Linked DNA regions of Homo sapiens: region 2 is linked to region 1. Evidence: promoter capture Hi-C in 16 types of primary human blood cells and fetal thymus (Javierre and others, 2016). All regions are on one chromosome and are shown on one strand. Each heading gives the region's core, a stretch centred on a gene start or on the middle of the fragment in contact. The rest is flanking DNA. Distances are from core to core; before and after follow the strand shown.

Region 1 (7,250 bases), core at 152-2,651:
GAGGTCAGGAGATCGACACCAGCCTGGCCAACATGGTGAAACCCCGCCTCTACTAACAAAAATTAGCCGGGCGTGGTGACAGATACCTGTAATCTCAGCTACTCGGGAGGCTGAGGTAGGAGAATCGCTTGAACCTGGGGTGGAGGTTGCAGTGAGCCGTGATCGGGCCACTGCGCTCCAGCCTGGGCGACAGAGCGAGACTCTGTCTCAAACAAACAACAACAAGAAAACACAAAATTCTGCGACCATATGTTAAAACTGCTACAATACTACGTATTTGGGAGGAGATACTTAGATCAAGCATCCTGCTTCTCTTTGGAGTACCAACCCCTGATTTAAGTATTTATCATCAATTTTAAAAATGTAACCTGGCAACTCAGTTAGGTCTTTCTTCAATTTTGTTGAAAACCAATAATTGAGAACCAATTGGGAAATCAATATCTACGTATTTCCCATGGCGTCCAGTGGCCCAGAGATTCCTACACTATCGGTGGACACATCACAGTAAGATTAGACTGAGGATTGGCGAGGGGTGCGCCGTTCTTGTGTAAAGCGGGAGAAGAGTGTATTATCGTTAGGCAACATTTTAGGATATAGGATAAACACTGGTGTCCTGAAAACGTTCCTGGCCGCAACACTCTCAGAGGTTTGCATTCTCGAGTTTGGAGACCATGGCTCTGAAAGACTCAACTCACTCCACTGATGCCAGCCACCAGCTACTGTTGATGACTTCCCAAGTTCGTACTTTCAGTCCACACCTCTTCCTTTCGCTGGGCACCAAACTTGTCTACATTCCGAGTGCCCCGGCACACCCCGGGGCTTCGCTTTCCGCCTCTCACAGTAGGAAGCGGCGAGCCGCTTCTAGTGCCCACGCCGCTCCTCGGCTGCCCGGCCTGGGTTTTCCACCCTCGCCCCTGGAATCGGCCTCCCTAGATTCCCTTCCCTCTTAAAATCATTTGGAAACGGGCTCCAAGGGGCGACCCTGCGCAGAAAACCAAATTCCATCCGGGGCGGGCAGGGAGTGCTAGACTCCAAGGAAGACGTTTCCCACATTCGGTGGTGAGGAGTGTTTGGCGGCACGGCACGGCCAGCGCTCTCAAGGACCCTCTTCTGCGCAGAATATCCAGTCGTAGCCACGAAAATACGCCGCGTCAGTCCCTGACTCGAAAGGAAGTCCTCCAGAGAGCCGCACTAACCATCTAGCTTCCTCCACCTTCAGCCTGCCAGGCCCGCGGCCACCGCCGGCGCGGGAGGCCGGCCCACCTCTGCCCGCGCGCCTGGCCTTAAAGCGGTCGTGGAATTATGCTTCCTCAGGCAGGCGGTGGACGCACCGCGGGCTTTTTCTGTTTGAAGACTACAGCGTCACACAGCAACGCGCGCGAGAGAAGAGAGTATTCTCGCGAGAAGTCCAGGGGTGGCCGTGATGGCGGCGGCAGGAGCAGGACCTGGCCAGGAAGCGGGTGCCGGGCCTGGCCCAGGAGCGGTCGCAAATGCAACAGGGGCAGAAGAGGGGGAGATGAAGCCGGTGGCAGCGGGAGCAGCCGCTCCTCCTGGAGAGGGGATCTCTGCTGCTCCGACAGTTGAGCCCAGTTCCGGGGAGGCTGAAGGCGGGTAAGAGGTCCTGCCGCCCGAGGAAGACGCGGGAGGGAGGCCCGCCCCTCGCGAATCCCGCGGCTCCTGGAGCCCTGCCGCCCGCCCCCTGCGAACCCAGGCCCCGCCGCCAATGGCTCGCCCTGCCTCTGCGCCGCTTGGCCCGTCCCCTCTCAAGCATATCTCGGATAACGCCCCTTCCGCACCTTTCACGGGCGGTGGGAGCTGAGGCTCCTGTCGTTATCTCTGATCCTTGCACCCTGGCAGGAAGCTGGTAGCTCACACTTTAACGGGAGGCCTTCACATATTCCAGAAAAGAAACCACTTTGCAGTGCCAGACTGGAAGAAGTAACGGTCACTCTGAAAACAGGGTGGGAGAGCTGCCTCTCTTTGAACCTCTCCCAGGACCAACTCTAACCCAGGTAGATTTGACTGTAAAGGCCGGTTAGGCTTCCCTGTGCTCCGTGGGTCCGCGACTGTCTGACATGTCCACCTTCTCAGTATCCTGACAGTACCTTGGGCATCCAGTCTGAGATCAGGCTTAGCTGAAAAAGCTGCAGGAGTATGAAGTTCGGCTGTAATTTGATCATCATTTTTGGGAATAGGCATTTTGAGGTTTGTCTTGAGAATTCTTACTTGAGCGCTTTCATTATCTTATAGGGAGGCAAACTTGGTCGATGTAAGCGGTGGCTTGGAGACAGAATCATCTAATGGAAAAGATACACTAGTAAGTATTTTTAGTTGTTTGCAAGACAAAATAGGGTTTGTTTTAGTTATTTCTTCTTCTTCTTTTTTTTTTTTTTTTGTTGCGACGGAGCCTTGCTCTGTCGCCCAGGCTGGAATGCAGTGGCGCGATCTCGGCTCACTGCAACCTCCTCCCCCCGGGTTCCAGCGATTCTCCTGCCTCAGCCTCCCGAGTATCTGGGATTACAGGCATCTGCCAACACACCTGGCTTCTTTTTTTTGTCTTTTTAGTAGAGACGGGGTTTCACCATGTTGGCCAGGCTGGTCTCGAACTCCTAACCTCAGTTGATTCTCCCGCCTCAGCCTCCCAGAGTGTTGGGATTACAGGCGTGAGCCACCGCGCCCGGCCTTGTTTTTACATTTTTAAGCGAATCAAAAATACATTCAGGCCAGGCACGGTGGCTCATGCCTGTAATCCCAGCACTTTGGGAGGCTGAGACCTCAGGATCACTTGAGACCAGCCTGGGCAACATAGGGAGACCCCCGTCTCTTAAAAAAATAAAATAAAGTAAAATACATTCAAGTCAACTGATTTGAGTCTCGAACTGCTCTGACACAGGAAGGTGCTGGGGATACATCAGAGGTGATGGATACTCAGGCGGGCTCCGTGGATGAAGAGAATGGCCGACAGTTGGGTGAGGTAGAGCTGCAATGTGGGATTTGTACAAAATGGTTCACGGCTGACACATTTGGCATAGATACCTCGTGAGTACTTTTCATAGTTTTTGTGAGAATTGCTCGGTAAAATAAATCTGAACATGCTCAACAGTTACTTTGTGGGCAAAATAAATGCAAAGTATTTCCTATGTCTCCTAACCCCTATTCAGCAAGTAGGATGTTGAATCAGGAGTTGTTTTAATTCCCTTAGCATGTTATCTGCTTACTGAGGGCACAGCTCTGGTAGATACAATGGTGGGTATTGCCCCTCCTTTTGAGTTGACAACCTGGTTTGGAGACAAAAAAAAATGCAATTACAAAGTGTTATATAAACAAATTTAGAACAATATAAACCTTGTGTTGGTGTTTTGGATTTTTCAGAAAGGATATATGTGGATAAAGCCTGTTGTCCAAAATTTGAGATGACCCATGCTCTTTATGCCTGAACCATCCTTTTTTTCCTTTCTCATTGCTGCTGACTCACTCCTTTAGGTATATTGTCTACTCTCCTCAGCAAACCTATTTCCAATCATGTACCTCTTCTAGTGAATTAAAATCATATTGTGATTGAGAATGAAAGACTTTTTTCCTTATACTGACTGTCTGTTGGAATAATTGTACTGCTCGCTCTCTGTAATGTTCTTTATGGTTTGTATTATGCTAATACATTTATAAAAGACTATCTAAACATAAGGCTGCATTATCGTGAAATTAATCCACCTTGGGTGAGATTGTGAAGAAATACATATATGTGTGTGTGTGTGTGTGTGTGTGTGTGTGTGTGTGTATATGTATATATATATACATATATATATGTTTTCTTGTTTTTTTCTTGCGACTGGGTCTCGCTCTGCTGCCCAGGCTGGAGTGCAATGGCAGGATCACAGCTTTCTGCAGCCTCGAACTTCTGAGCTCAAGGGATCCTCCTGCCTCACCCTTCCAAAGTGTTGGGATTACTGGCATGAGCCACCACACCCAGCTTTCCTTTATAATCTGTTGTATACTTTCTAGTTAAAAGGTTAAAGTGGGTTTTAGAAATGCTGATGTCTTAATTAACATGTGACTTGTGATTTAGGAAAGAGTGTTTTTAAAAAGAAAGAAAAATACTGAAGGATCAGGAAGAAATAATTGATCTTGGTAGCAACATCTGCTGGGAAAACACACTAGCTAAGCAAGCCTGGTCTCTTAGAGAGGCCTAAGATAGGGCCACTTTTGCCAGAAAAATTTGTTTGGATAGACAGTTTAGGAAAGGAAGTTTACTAGAGAGATAACTGGGAGGAATTCAAGGAAGAATCAAATCACAGTTCAAAGTTTTGGTAGCTTTGGAGACAACAGTTTGTAACTGAATTTCAAAAGTTATATCTAAAGTCCAGTTAGATCCTATCAGTGGTATCAAGTTAAAAAAAAAAAAAGGTGGGGGGCCAGGCGCAGTGACTCACGCCTGTAATCCCAGCACTTTGGGAGGCCAAGGCAGGCTGATCACGAGGTCAGGAGTTCAAAACCAGCCTGACCAACATGGTGAAACCCCGTCACCAGAAAAAAAAATACAAAAATTAGTTGGGCACAGTGGTGCGTGCCTGTAGTCCCAGCTACTCGGGAGGCAGGAAAATCACTTGAACCCGGGAAGCAGAGGTTGCACCCCAGCCTGGGCGACAGTGAGACTCCGTCTCAAAAAAAAAGGCCAGGCATGGTGGCTCACACCTGTAATCCCAGCACTTTAGGAGGCCGAGACAGGAGAATGACGTGAGCCCAGGACTTCGAGACTAGCCTAGGCAACATAGTGAGACCCTGTCTCTACGAGAAATAGAAAAAAATTAGCTGGGCGTGGTGGTTCACATCTGTAGTACCAGCTACTCAGGAGCTTTAGGTGGGAGGATTGCTTAAGCCCTGCAGGTTGAGGCTGCAGTGAGCCATGATTGCTACTGCACTCCAGCCTGGGTAACAGAGTGATACCCTGTCTCAAAAAAGAAAAGAAAAATAAAGCCCAGTTAGGTGGGATGGATTATCTTTTACAACTGAGATAGAGAATGTGAGCTAGCAGGGTATAAAAAAGGCTGCTTTTTACACCTGTTTGTATTTAAATTAAAATAACTATTTACCTACCTATCTTTAGTATGAGGTTTTGTCTTTGTAAATAAGCTTATCACAATAGTCTGTTAAACAGAAGAGGTTCTACAGAGAAGTGAAGGTAAGGAAACTCAGCTGTAACATTTGTAAGAATGTTTCGTAATTCCATGAGGGTAGCAATAGTTGGTAAATGCAGTCTTCTCTGAGGATATCCTAAGCTAGTTTCAGAGTCCAAGATAAACCTTTGTTCTGATTTCTTCTCTTCTAGCTTAAGCCATTTATACTAAAGGTCTTCTGTCCTTCTGTTACTTTGCCCTTTGCAAGACTAAACTCCTGTGCTTTTCCTGTCATCTTGTGCAATCACTACCATGTTTCTCTTCTCAAATGCGTTGGTTCCTCTGTTGCATCCGTCTCTGCCATATTGTCTTTCCCCTCCTGGCCTCTTCCTCTCTTGCCTTCAAATAGGCAAGTCTTCTCTTGATGTCAGGTGATCCATGCGCCTTGGCCTCTCAAAGTTCTGGAATTAGAGGTCTGAGCCACTGTGCCTGGCCTAGTTATTTACATTTTTAATTCATTTTTTCTTACATTCTGCCTGCCCTTTCCAACCACATTATTGACACCATAGAGATACACCTTAGACTACTTTGTCCTCTTCTACAGCTAGCCTGGCATATTCTTTTTAGGTACTCAAAAAATAAACTTAACGAGATACCAGTGAGAACCTTCTAGATGCTGAATTGTCCAGTATAACGGATAAGGTCTTATTAACTTTCGTGACAGAAAAATCCAGGTATTTATAAAAATATGAGCCCTGTTTTGGTTTTGACAACCTTTTTACATTTTAAGACTATGTTAACATATTAACATTTTAATTTACCTGTCACTGAGGGGAATGGATTCATGTTAACTTCTCATAAAGAGGCGTACAGCCTGTGCAGCATGGCGAAACCCTGACTCCATAAAAAAATACGAAAATTAGCTGGGCATGGTGGCTAATGCCTATAGTCCCAGCTACTTGGGGGGCTGAAGTGGGAGAATCAACCTGAGCCAGGGAACGTCAAGTCTGCAGTGAGCTATGATTGCACCACTGCACTCCAGCCTGAGTGGTAGAGTGAGAGCCTGTCTTTAAAAAAAGAAAAAGAAGTGTGTGTGTTCACAAGTTCACTAATTCGTATAATTTGGCTCTTCGGCAGATCCTGTCTACCTTTCATGACCAACTACAGTTTTCATTGCAACGTCTGCCATCACAGTGGGAATACCTATTTCCTCCGGAAGCAAGCAAGTAAGAACAAACTCTGGAGTATTTGAAGATGATTATCCACTGGAAAAGAAAAGGGATCTGGGCGTAGCAGAATCAGGAGACCTTTGCCTAGTAGCTGGTATAAATTCAGTTGGGGTTTAGCTCTGAATAATTGCAATTGCCCATTTCAGGTCACATGATGACTCCATTTTGCTGCTATAATTGTTATTTTCTGGACCACTTATCGAGTATTCCCTTGGTAGTAGAGATGTAGTACTACAGATAACTGTTTCTTCCTTTTTGTTTTTGATAGACTTGAAGGAAATGTGCCTTAGTGCTTTGGCCAACCTGACATGGCAGTCCCGAACACAGGATGAACATCCGAAGACAATGTTCTCCAAAGATAAGGTAGAGGTGGAACTAATGTGATTGCAGTTATATTGAAGAGTTAGGTGGAACTTCTAAATATACTCCCTAACAAGTACTTTCTTCCCAGTTTTTATTGAATATATGACAGTGGATTCAGTGATTACCTTGTTCTCTTTTTTTTTCAAGATGGAATGCAGTGATGCGATCTCAGCTCAGTGCACCCTCTGCCTCCTGGGTCCCAGAGATTCTCCTGCCTCCGCTTCCCGAGTAGCTGGGATTACAGGCATGCGCCACCACGCCCAGCTAATTTTTTGTATTTTTAGTAGAGACAGGATTTCACCGTGTTGGCCAGGCTCATCTCCAACTGACCTCATGATCCACTGGCTTCGGCCTCCCAAAGTGCTGGGATTACAGGCGTGAGCCACCGCACCTGGACTGTTGTGTTTTTTTTGAGAGAGGGTCTCTGTCACCCAGGCTGGAGTGCAGTGGTGTGATCATGGCTCACTGCAGCCTTGACCTCCTGGGCTAAAGCAATTTGCCTTCCTCGGCCTCTCAAAGTGCTGGGATTACAGGTGTGAGCCAC
Region 2 (7,157 bases), core at 1,100-3,599, 670 kb after region 1:
CATGCCACTGCACTCTAGCCTGAATGAAAGAGTAAAACTCCGTCTCAAAAAAAAATTCATTATTTTAAATATTGACATAAATATTAATATGCATATCAAATAAATTAAAATATTAATATAATATAAATTTTTATATTTAAATATTAATATTTATATTAAATAAATACTAATATAATATAAACATTAATATTTACACTGGTAAATATTAATAAAATCAATAAATATTTAAACATACATATTGTCTTTTGCCAAAAGTACTTATTCACTATTTGTGTAAAAGTATCTATCTATCTAGCTAGCTATCTATCTAGCTATCTATCTATCTAGCTATCTATCTAGCTATCTATCTGTTGTTCCATTTGTCCAAATAAGTACATGCTTGTGTATATGTAAGAGAGAGATTTGCAATCTTTATTCAGTCATCAAATATTGAGCAGAAGAAACAAGATAGGTAAGGTACTCTGTGTTCATGGAGCTTATGTCTAGTAGGGAAAGACAGATTATAAATATTAATAGAAAAACATAAATATTTCAATTCCAGATGTAAAAAGTACTTTGAAAAAGAGGGAAAAAAGGGTATATCTAGCTCACCAACATTTTAACAGTGGCTATTTATGAAAGACAATACTATGGGCAGGTTTTTCTTTCTTCTTTGAACTGCCTATGTAGTCAAAAATTCACTTTTTCAGAGACAAGGATGCTTAACATGGTCTTCTAGGCTGTCATGCCTTGTGCCTCTCCCACTTCACCAGCCTAAGCCCCTCTCCTCCCTCCAGCAGCTGCTCTTCAACCACGCTTACTCAAAACTGGAGGCTGCTTCTGTCCTTAGTGTCTTGATGAAGGAACGCTGTTACCCTACACTTCACCCAGGCAGCTTCTGCCTATCCCTGAGGCTTCAGTCTGTCACTCCTTCAGAGCAACCTCCCTTGACATCTCCACCGATGCCGTCCACCAGCCATTCTCAGAGCCCCCTGCAGTTCTTATATTTCATACATGACAATTTATATATTACATATTTATTTGTTGGCTTACTAAGCTCACTAATATGCAAGTTCTATGAGGGCAGGAACTGGGTCTCTTTTGTTCAACACAGTGTTCAGCAGAGGCTGGCAAAGCTTGGTCATTTGTCAAATTTGTGGAATGAATGAATGAATGAATGAATGAATGAACATATGTATTATTTTGCCTTAAACACTAAAGGTATTTAAAAATACATTTTTTATTATTGTTTTGAGACAGAGTCTCACTCTATAGCCCAGGCTGAAGTGCAGTGGTAGCATCACAGCTCACTGCAACCTTGAATTCCTGGGCTCAAATGATCCTCCCATCTTGGCCTCCCAAGTAGCTAGGACTACAGGTGTGCATTGCCACACCAGGCTAATTTTTTTTTGTTTTTGTTTTTGAAGGGATGGGGTCTCACTATGTTGCCTAGGCTATAAAAATATTTTTAAAGGCCAGCCACGGTGGCTCACGCCTGTAATCCCAGCACTTTGGGAGGCCGAGGCGGGCGGATCACGAGGTCAGGAGTTCGAGACCAGCCTGTCCAACATGGTGAAACCCCCTCTCTACTAAAAATACAAAAATTAGCTGGGCATGGTGGCACATGCATGTAATCCCAGCTACTCGGGAGGCTGAAGCAGGAGAATCGCTTGAACCCCAGAGGCAGAGGTTGCAGTGAGCGAAGATCGCACCACTGCACTCCAGCCTGGGTGACACGGTGAGACTCCGTCTCAAAAAAAAAAAAAAAAAAATGAAAACCAAAAACTTTTAAAACAAAGTACAAGACTATTTGTATGTATTTGCTTTATAAAACAATTTACAGTGCCTTTTAAAATGAGGTGAATTTTGGGGAGAAGTCATATCTCTATTATACATACCAAGTGGGCATATCTTTTGGGGCTGGGGGGAAACTCCAGAATTCATACCTTCATACCTTCCTTGCAAGGGTTATGAATCCTAGTTGTGCACTTTGGTGCCTGAGTAAACCTTCTTCCAAAAAGAATGATATTCGACCCAGTGATCTTTGGCAAAGGTCCTTTCCAGCTAAAAATTTCTGTGGTTCTATGAGATCTGAGATGGATGCTTAGGTTAGGAGTCAGTGATTATCTTAGTCTGTTAAGGCTACTATAAGGATATAATTGCCTGGGTGGTTTATAAACCAGTCATTTATTTCTGGAAGTTCTGGAGGATGGAGGTCCCCATGATTAAGGGACCAGCAGATTCCACATCTGGTGAAGGCTGACCTCCTGGATGTCTTCTCCCTGTGTCCTCATTTGGCAGAAGAAGGGAGAGGGAGCTGTCTGGGGTCTCTTTTATAAGGGCGCTGACCCCAGGAAGAACCCTCATGACCTAATCACCTCCCAAAGGCCCCACTTCTTAATATTCTCACATTGGAGTTTAGGTTTTAACCTATGAATTTTGGGGGGATATAAACAGTCAGTCTGTAGCAGTGATTTATCATTTGTTCAGAAAATAATGTAAAACAAATATATTCTGCTCAGTGTCTATGCCTTGGCCAAAGGAAACAGAAAACACATAAGATATTCCTATATCATACATGATGAGGTACAGGGAAGACCGGTAAGGATAAACTCGCTCTTGCTTGTCATAGTTCTATAAAATAATACAACAAAATAACTTGACTAATTGAGCCCATAAGAAAACAATTTCTAAAAATATTTTGTGTGTGTGCTAGAAATCGTCACTAGCACCAGTTAGTGTTGAAGCCAAAGAACAATGATTAATTCACTTATAGGATTTGGGTCAGTTATTATTTATTATTGTTATTATTTATCCTTAGAATTGGGCAAATATTGGAGTTATACAATCATATTATTTCAAGGAAATCTCCCCAAAGAAAATAATAACCTTCATCAATATGTAAATCCATTCTACTTGGCCTTTGTGAAATCTAAATATTGACTCCCTCCTTCTTCAACGTTTTTGTCCACATCAGTCATCTTTAAAAATGCAACTGCCTAATTTCTAGAAAGTCAGTATCACAGCTCAAGTCATTACGGCAGAAGGAAGGGTAGTCTCAGTCCTGTTTTTAGGATAATTAGGACATCATCCACGGGGCAGGCTTGAGTCTTTTGGTTCGGGAATTTTCTGCCCTGAGAAAAGACATCATTGAGATACAGGTAGAGTGTTCCTTATCCAAAATGCTTAGGACCAGAAGTGTTTCAGATTTTAGATTTTGGAATATTTGCATATACATAATGAGATAGCTTGGGGATGGGACCCAAGTCTAAACATGAGATTCATTATGTTTCATATACACCTTCTACACATAGCCTGAAGGTAATTTTAAACAGCAGTTGTAATAATTTTGTGCATGAAACAAAGTTTTGACTGTGTTTTGACTGTGACTGGCCACATGAAATTAGGTGTGGAATTTTCCACTGTGGTGTCATGTTGACAAGCAAAACGTTTTGGATTTTAGATTGTTGGATTAGGGATGCTCAACCTGTGTAGATTTATCATTTTTAAAAATGCTTCCATCTTTGAAGGAACTTTCATGTAATCCTGTTCAGAAGAATGTAGAACGAAATTTAAGGCAGGTTCTTCCCATACCTTCATCTAAGGAAGCTTAGATGCTGAAATCCCCCAGAGGAGGTTGTAATGTGAGGGTGGAGATGAGGCTGCTGTTACAAAGGGGCCCAGTGACACAGTCTGATAAAGAAGATAGACTTTTAGGCTGGGCACGGTGGCTCACGCCTGTAATTCCAGCACTTTGGGAGGCTGAGGCAGGCGGACCACCTGAGGTCAGGAGTTCGATACCAGCCTGGCCAACATGGTGAAACCCCATGTCTACTAAAAATACAAAAATCAGCTGGGTGTGGTGGCACGAGCCTGTAATCCCAGCCACTCTGGAGGCTGAGACAGGAGAATTGCTTGAACCCGGGAGGCAGAGGTTGCAGTGAGCCGAGATCACGCCACTGCACTTCAGCCTGGGCAACAGAGTGAGACTCCATCTCAAAAAAAAAAAAAAAAGAGAAGATAGACTTTTCTCTCTCATGGAACAGTCCTCAGGCAGCAATTAGTCTAGGGCCGCAGGCTGCTCTGCTCCCCAGTCAGCCTGGTGCGGGTTCTGTCTGTTCTGTGGCTCTATCCTGTCCAGAGTGTGGTCCTCACACAGCAGAAGTTGTGACACGCAGTTCACAACTTTTCGGCCGGGAGAGGCTGGACATGCAGTTTTCTTTTTAAAGACATTGGCCCAGGGGCCAGGCACAATAGCTCATGTCTATAATCCCACTGCTTCTGTAGGCCAAGGGGTGAGAATTGCTTGAGTCCAGGAATTTGAGACCAGCCTGGGCAACACAGCAAGACCCTGTTTCTACAAACAAAACAAAACAAAACAAAAAACATTAGCTGGACATGGTGGTGTGCACCTGGATTTCCAGCTACTCAAGAGGCTGAGGTGGGAGGATTGCTAGAGCCCAGGAGCTCGAGGCTATAGTGAGATATGATTACACTACTGCATTTCAGCCTGGACAATAGAGCAAAACTCTGTCTCTAAAAGAGAAAAAAAAGACACTGCCCCAAATTTGCACTTACCCCTTGTGCTCACATCCCATGGGTGAGAACTGAGTCACAGGCCACACCTAGTTGTAGAGAAGGAAACGTGGCCTCTTGCTGTGTGACCATGTGCTCAGCAAAAATTCAGAGGGTTCTTTTGCTAGAAGAAATAAGGAAATGATGGATACAGATGGATACAGGATGTGGGGTGAGGGAATTAGGCTCTACCATGGTGATCTTGTGGAAATTCAAAGAGTAGAGGTGCATAGACACACAATGTTAAAGAAGCATTATAGTTTTTCTTTTTTATCTTTGTGTGTGTGCATGTGTGTAGAGATGGGCTCTCACTGTGTGGTCCAGGCTGGTCTCAAACTCCTGGGCTCAAGCGATCCTCCTGCCTTCGTCTCCCAAAGTGTTGGGATTACAATCATGAGCCACCACACCTGGCCTTTTGCTTTTTTATCTTAATAATTAAAATTGTGTGTGTGTGTGTGTGTGTGTATGTGTGTGTTTACAATGGGTACAGAAGGAACAGAGCCATGAATTATGTTTCACAATCTGTGTAGGAGATATCTTTTGACAGTTTTATCCAGTTTCCAACAGTTAAATATTTTTGTTTCCTCTAAGAAGACAGAGGTCAGTGTGACCCCCTCGCTCCATAAATGGACATTTCACTTACTGAGTTGAGGCCAGCTGAACCACTCCTGAGCCACAGGCAGGAATCTCTTTTGTTCTCTGGGCAGAGCTGAATTTACTATGAAGCTGAGGAAGCCTAAGCTTCAGTCCCCTCCCTTGCATGGGCCCCTTCATACTAGTGTGGCCCTAGCACTGTGTTCATGGGGTCCTTTAGCATTTTTCTTAAAGAGTGCTTCCCCAGTTTTTAGGCTTCCTGCTTCACAAAATCAGGCCTTGGCAACCTGTTTGATGCCTCCTTTCTTTGCTGAGCCTTGCTACTTTTTCCCAGATGGGGAGAGGCTCCTGGGTGTCATTTCCCTCATCAACATAGTTTCTTGGAAGAAACCACCCTAAAAGGAAGTATAGCGAAAGAGCATCCCAAAGAAAGAGATGTTAAAATTAATCCTTTTGCACCTCCCACATAAAGTATGCCTTTTATGCTCTGGCCCAATTTTTTGTGCCTTTGAGGATTCTCATTTGTATCAGTAGGGGTCCTTGGGTTTTTTTTTTTTTTTTCTTTTCTTTTTAGACAAGGTCTCGCTCTGTCACCCAATCTGGAATGCAATGCCACAATCACGGCTTACTTCAGCCTTGACCTTCTGGGCTCAAGCGATCCTCCTGGGCTCAAGATTAGCTGGGACTACAGGCGAACACCACCACGCCTGGCTACTTTTTAATTTTTTTATAGAGATGGGGTTTTGCTATGTTGCTCAGGCTGGTCTCAAAGTCCTGGGCTCAAGTTATCCTCCTGCCTCAGCCTCCAAAAGTGCTGGGATTATAGGAAGATGCCACTATGCCTGGCTGAAATGCTCTTTTTTTATGGTACTTTGGCTCAACTGGCAAATGCCTTCTTGAAATGAGCATTTCACACTTTGGTCACCACACAGTCACTTAGATGAAACCCACAGGCTGCCCAGTAACATGGGCTCCCACTGGGCATTTGGGGAAGGGCACACCCTGCCTGGAGTGGTGAGCACTGCTAGGCCTGCTCTCCGCCCTTTTCCACCCTCCGGGTGTCTTCAAAGCTGGCTGTTTTCTACACTAACTTCTGGCAGGTCTGGATTTTCCGTATAAGGGCTTTTTTGGCCAGTACTTCCTTATACTGAAGAATTTTATATTAGTTCCCTTTCAGATTCGAAAATCAATCTTTAGTCAACCTAAAACATTATTCCTGGAGTGGGGCTTGACTGTATGTGGGGAAGAGGAGAGGGAGAGACTGATGCAAATATGCACACACACATACTTTTTGCATACAATTTCAGGGAGGCCAGGACCTTCTGAAACCCTTCCTTGCTAAGCCTCTGCTGTAGAGGGTGAAATGCAGCCAAGTTAACTTGTTAACAACAACAAAAAGGCCGTAACAATACTTTCCTCCTGAGATTGTAGGAGTAAGTGGGGGAGATTAAATGAGACGATTCATGTAAAGTGTAGTGTCTAACACATAGTAAGCAGTTATAATTGTTCACTTTTCTTTTGGGGCTTAAATGATCTTACTTGTTTTCACGAGTTCCTTAGGTAATAACAATACTAACAGCCTTTGTTTTTCCATGGCCTGTTGTTTGCCTTTTAACTTGAAGGCACACAGTCAGAAGCTTCATTTTTTTAAATGTAACCAAATCTATCTTTATTTTGTGTCTGATTTCATTAATTACTTGTAAGTTGGATCCTCATCCTTCCTACAGAGCTCTGATAGATTCTGTTGCTTGTAGACTGTTTTCTCCCAATGGTTCGATTTTTATTATTTAGTCATCTAATCCATCTGGAATTTATCCTGGTATATGCTCTGAGGTAAGGGTTTAACTTGATCTTTTTTCCCATTGCCAGCCAACTATGCTCCAATCATAAATCTTCCTTCTCCTTACATATTGTAACATGTTCTTTATATTTTTGTTGTTTGTTCTTTTTTTTTGAGATAGAGTCTCGCTCTGTTGCCCAGGCTGGAGTGCAGTGGCACGATCTTGGCT

Evidence for each region. Contacts are between HindIII fragments. The CHiCAGO score rates a contact against its expected background, and 5 or more counts as called.
Region 2: a contact is called between a fragment that was not itself captured here and the fragment with the promoter of ASH2L in region 1, in 1 of 17 cell types (fetal thymus). The highest score is 5.2, in fetal thymus.

The regions. Positions count from the first base shown.
Region 1 is chr8:38,104,128-38,111,377 of GRCh38, forward strand. It overlaps ASH2L (ASH2 like, histone lysine methyltransferase complex subunit), which reads left to right and starts at 1,402. Exons shown (of 16, transcript NM_004674.5): 1 at 1,402-1,611; 2 at 2,251-2,317; 3 at 2,894-3,039; 4 at 6,252-6,340; 5 at 6,612-6,706. The coding sequence starts at 1,424. RefSeq lists silencers at 1,170-1,259, 1,590-1,789 and an enhancer at 1,370-1,499. The HindIII fragment of the contact is 22,171 bases long and covers 1-5,128 here.
Region 2 is chr8:38,773,279-38,780,435 of GRCh38, forward strand. It overlaps a transcript of TACC1 not described here. Among named protein-coding and RNA genes, the nearest start is that of TACC1, 10 kb to the right of the region's middle. The HindIII fragment of the contact is 2,473 bases long and covers 1,114-3,586 here.